Regions from separate parts of the Homo sapiens genome. Here region 2 is linked to region 1. The links are contacts of gene promoters, found by promoter capture Hi-C in human tissues and cell types (Jung and others, 2019). All regions are on one chromosome and are shown on one strand. Each heading gives the region's core, a stretch centred on a gene start or on the middle of the fragment in contact. The rest is flanking DNA. Distances are from core to core; before and after follow the strand shown.

What was found. Contacts are between HindIII fragments. The study calls those that stand out against the background at their distance.
Region 2: a contact is called between a fragment that was not itself captured here and the fragment with the promoter of ABCC10 in region 1, in 1 of the 25 tissues and cell types used here (psoas muscle).

Annotation. Positions count from the first base shown.
Region 1 is chr6:43,426,058-43,428,826 of GRCh38, forward strand. ABCC10 (ATP binding cassette subfamily C member 10) reads left to right here and starts at 1,484. Exons shown (of 22, transcript NM_001198934.2): 1 at 1,484-1,700; 2 at 1,911-2,082. The coding sequence starts at 1,922. RefSeq lists an enhancer at 2,061-2,130. The HindIII fragment of the contact is 15,144 bases long and covers 1-2,769 here.
Region 2 is chr6:42,901,210-42,903,909 of GRCh38, forward strand. No RefSeq gene overlaps it. Among named protein-coding and RNA genes, the nearest start is that of PEX39, 12 kb to the left of the region's middle. RefSeq lists a silencer at 320-549. The HindIII fragment of the contact is 6,837 bases long and covers 1-2,700 here.

The DNA.
Region 1 (2,769 bases), core at 234-2,733:
CATTAACAGAAGTTTGGAAGAAGCTGATTCCAACCTTCACGGATGGACCTTCAAGACATCAGTGGAGGAAGTAACTGCAGATGTGATGGAAACAGCAAGTGAATTAGAATTAGAAGTGGAGCCTGGCCAGGTGCAGTGGCTCACACCTATAATCCCAGCACTTTGGGAGGCCAAGGCAAGCGCATCACCTGAGGCCAGGAGTTCAAGACCAGCCTGGGCCAGGTAGCAAGACTCTGTTAATTAATTACTAAAGATTGTGAAATGCAAACCTACATCTCTTAGTTTTTAAAAATAGGAAAATTAATTCTTGACGTTGAGGGATATGGGGCTTCTTACTGAGATTAAGTGGGATAACCATAATTGTCATTTGTTTAGCTTTTCTTCTTCAAGCACTGTACACACCTATGTAAAGGCGGATACCAACACCATGCCTGACAAACATAATAAAATAAAGATGCAGAAGTAACCTGCCCAACATCCCTCTGCTAAAAGCATTCAAACCCAGGTCCGTATAATTATAAAGGTTATGTTCTTCCCACTGCTTCCTTAAAAGATTTATTGGAGGACTACCCTAGGCAAAGCACTTGCCCTAAGCACTCTAAATTAATTATTCAACTCTCTCAACAGTACTTTAGTATTGGTATTGTCCCTGTTGTACAAATAAAGAAGTTGAGGCTCGGCCGGGGTGGTGGCTCACGCCTGTAATCCCGGCTCTTCGGAAGGCCAAGGCGGACGGATCACGAGGTCAGGAGATCGAGACCATCCTTGCCAACATGGTGAAACCCCGTCTCTACTAAAAATACGAACAAAAAAATTGGCTGGGCGTGGTTGCGCGCGCCTGTAGTCCCAGCTACTCGGGAGGCTGAGGCAGGAGAATCGCTTTAACCCGGGAGGCGGAGGTTGCAGTGAACCGAGATTGTGCCACTGCACTCCAGCCTGGTGACAGAGCGAGACTCCGTCCCCCCCCCAAAAAAAAGTTGAGGCTCAAAAAAGTTAGGTAACTTGTCCAAGGTCATGCAGCCCTAGAATAATAAGGGAAAACAGTGTGTCCCAAAATGGCATTATTTGTCCGTGGGGCAGGTATGTTTGAATTTCCATCCATCCATCTATCTATCTGAGACTGGGGTCTCGCTATGCTGCTTGGACTGTTCTCGAACTCCTGGGCTCAGGCCATCCTCCTGGGATCTACCGGCGCGCAGAGACTACGGGCGCGCAGGGACTACCGAGGCGCGCAACCGTGCCCGGCTCCCCACCTCTTCAAGAAATGGAGATTGCAATGCTTGTGCCAACTAGTAAGCTTACACAGTTGTGAGCGAATACTCCACGTGAGAGGTTATAAATGACGTTGCACTAAGGGAGGGATGGATCCTTAACGCAAGTCAGGCCACAAAAGCGTACCAAAACGCAACTGTGCGTCTGCACCAGCGCGCCTGCGTGCAAAGGCCAGCCGAAGCAGAGAGCAGTGCACATGCGTGCAGCTACCAGCATATGGGCGTGGCGAATAGCGCCGGCTAGGTCTTCCAACCTCTAGGTGGGGTGCCAGCCGGGGCGGGCCCAGCACCCCGGCCGGGCAGTACTTTTTTTTTTTTTGCATACACCAGTTCTCAGGATATCGGAATCCGGTGCACAGCAGCTTCTTCAGGTTTGAGGTTCCGGATGCCTGGGGGCGGAGAAACGGGAGGGGAAAAACAGATGGCAAGGTGGGTGACCAGCGTCCAGAAATCCACTGGGGAAACCTCCTCCCGTTTTTACCCTTGGTACCGCGAGAATGGGCGGGGTCTGGCTTCGGGGCGGAAGCGACGGGCGGTCCCGGTTCCAGGGCGGGGCTGGAGACAGGGAGACCCGGCTGGGAAGTGCAGGCAAAGCCGGCTGTTACCCTGCACAGCCGTCACCCTCAACTTTCCCTTCAGGTGAGGCGTCCATGGAACGACTTCTGGCCCAGCTGTGCGGCAGCAGCGCAGCGTGGCCGCTCCCGCTGTGGGAGGGGGACACCACAGGCCACTGCTTCACCCAGCTGGTGCTCAGCGCCCTGCCCCACGCGCTCCTCGCCGTGCTCAGTGCCTGTTACTTGGGCACCCCGAGGTGGGTAGAGACGGGCGCAAGGCATCTGTCCATGTGTGCCTGCAGATCTCACCCGCGGCCTACATCTTCCGGCAGTGTCACCAGAATAGCGAGGTCTCTGGAGTAGGGCAGAAGTAGAATAAAATCTAAGCATTGCTACTTAGCAGCAATGTGGCTGTTCTTGGGCAAGTACCTGCCTTCTCTGAGTCTCATTGTTGGGAGGTTTAAATGAGATAATGAATTTAAGCATATAGTGCAGCGCCTGGCATGTTTTTAAAGGTCCGATGAGTATCAGAAATCATCAGAATTGTCCATTTTCAGCTACCCGGACTCAGCTGTCATGAATTGGAGGCAGAATTGGGGGAACAACGTTTTTAGCCAAAAGCGATGATGTGTTTAAGTTGTAGGCTCAGTTTCTCACCACTGCAACCCATGAAACCTTAGTGTTTCCAGATTAAGAAAAGCATACCTAGGCTCAGCTGAAGAGGAAGCAGTAGATAGACAAGAAGAGCAAAATCAAACATTAAGCCTTCCCCAATTAAGGGCTATAAGGTGTGGATGCTAAACTCAACTTGATTTTGTATTTAGTTCTTGTATGGCTAGAGATGACTAAAGTTAGTCTCATTCTGGCTGCCGAGAAGATAGGAGGACGGTGTGGTCTCTGCCTTTGGGAGTTCCTAGTCTGATGGGGGGAAGTGTCTCTATCCA
Region 2 (2,700 bases), core at 60-2,559, 530 kb before region 1:
CAATTTGGACCTGTTCCTAGCAATTGGTCTGCATCTATATTAACAGTGGGGTTAGTAACCTGATTTTTTCGTACCTGTTCTTGTACTCCATCGATCCACCACGGTTTAAACTGTAGAAACTGAGAGGGTGAAAGGGAAGATTTAGCCAAAATTTCCCAGTCATAAGGAATAAGTCTATTTCCATGAACAATGGAATCTAATAATGTTCTCACATAAGGGGAGTTGGGTCCATATTAACTCCTTCCTTCATATCTTTTAACATTTTCATGGTGAAAGATTCATATCTAGCTTCAGTTTGGACAGACGCTCCTGCTAGAGTCCCTTTCCCGGCCGGTATCGGTTGTAAAATTACCGGGAACTCCCATGCCTCAAGATCTCCCTGTTTACTGGCTTTATCAATAATTTCATGCAGTGTACTACCTTGTCCACTAGGTGGTGCGGTAGGATTAAACACCACTGCCGTGGGTTGCTGGTATGGTGCCGTGCTATTTGGCACAGGACACACCACTTGAGGTCTGTATTTAACCTCTGGAGGTGGCCGATACTGAAGGTCGGCTGGCGGCCAGTACTGATAAATTACTGGTGGTTGGGTCTTATTTTCTACCAGCTTATATTGTGGATACTGCATCTGAATTGGCATTGCCGGGATAGAGACTCTATCCTTTTCTACTTGATATTCTCTTGGGGTTTGTACTTGTCTAACCTCCCTTTGAGGTTGTAATGTTACAGGTATCTGAACCACGGGAGGAGTTGATGGCCATCGTGGTTTAGGCTCTGATGGCCCCAATAATTCTGGACCTCCTTCCCCCAATTTTGATTATTCATGATATATTACCTCCTTTAATTGATTGTAGTCAACATTTTGCGTTGACCAAGCCATTACAGACTCTGCTACATATTTACAATGTGAACTTTCCATTCCTTTCCTAAACTCTGTCTCTGCCTCTTCTTCACAATCTATTACACAGCTTTCAGGGGCAGCAGAAATGCTATCTTCTTCTGTTTGAAACGGTTCTAAAGTTGCTTTAATAATGGCCCAATCATTCCATACTGTAAGTAGGATGATTTTACCTTCCCTATTTGCTTGTTTTAATTCTTTGCCAATTTTTTTCCCAATCTTTTAGATCTAAAGTTCTCTGTTCTGGAAACCAGGGGCAAAATTGTTCTATTGTTTGAAATAGCGTAATTAGATTTTCTGTAGAAGCCCTAACTCCCCCTCTTCTTAAAAGAATTTTAATGAAGCTGAGATAAGAGGCATATTTACTTTCAGTTTGTCCCATTGTTACCCTGGGTTCCTCCGAGCACACAAGCTTACCGCAAGGCTGACGGTGGACGTACTCGGGAATCTCTCGTCGACTGTCCTCAATGCTCACGTTCTTAATGTACCTTCACCTTAGAGAAAGGCACCCACATTGGCGGCAGATGAAGGGGTGGCCTGCCCCTCCACACCTGTGGGTATCTCTCGTCAGGTGGGACGAGAGACTAAAAAAAGAAATAAGACACAGAGACAAAGTATAGAGAAAGAACAGTGGGGCCCAGGAGACTGGCGCTCAGCATACAGAGGACCTGCACCGGCCCCCGTCTCTGAGTTCCCTCAGTATTTACTGATTATTATTTTCACTATCTCAGCAAGGGGAATGTGGCAGAACAGGGTGATAGCGGGGAGAAGGTTGGCAAGAAAACATGTGAGCAAAGGAATCTGTGTCACAAATAAGTTCAAGGGAAGGTACTATGCCTGGATGTGCACATAGGCCAGACTCATGCTTCTCTCCACCCAAACATCTCAGTGTAGTAAAGAATAACAGAGCAGTATTGCCACCAGCATATCTCACCTCCAGCCACAGGGCGGTTTTCTCCTATCTCAGAATAGAACGAATGTACAATCGGGTTTTATACTGAGACATTCCGTTCCCAGGGGCATGCAGGAGACAGAGGCCTTCCTCTTATTTCAACTGCAAGAGGCCTTCCTCTTTTACTAATCCTCCTCAGCACAGACCCTTCACGGGTGTTGGGCTGGGGGATGGTCAGGTCTTTCCCGTCCCACGAGGCCATACCTCAGGCTGTCTCAGTGGGGAGAAACCTTGGACAATACTGGCTTTCCTGGGCAGGGGTCCCTGTGGCTTTCTGCAGTGCATTGTGCCCCTGGTTAATCGAGAATGGAGAATGGCGATGACTTTTATCAAGCATACTGCCTGTAAACGTTTTGTTAACAAGGCACATCCTGCACAGCCCTAGATCCCTTAAACCTTGATTCCATACAACACATATTTCTGTGAGCACAAGGTTGGGGCTAAAGTTACAGATTAACAGCATCTCCAGGCAAAACAATTGTTCAGGGTACAGATCAAAATGGACTTTCTTATGTCTTCCTTTTCTATGTAGACCCAGTAACAGTCTGATCTCTCTCTCTTTTCCCTACAAGTTTGGCGTAGGCTGGGTATGGTGGCTCACGCCTGTAATCCTAGCACTTTGGGAGGCTGAGGCGGGCAGATCACCTGAGATCAGGAGTTCGAGACCAGGCTGACCAACATGGAGAAACTCCATTTCCACTAAAAATACAAAAATTGGCCGGGCACGGTGGCTCACGCCTGTAATCCCAGCACTTTGGGAGGCCGAGGCGGGTGGATCACCTGAGATCAGGAGATCGAGACCATCCTAGCTAACACGGTGAAACCCTGTCTCTACTAAAAATACAAAAAA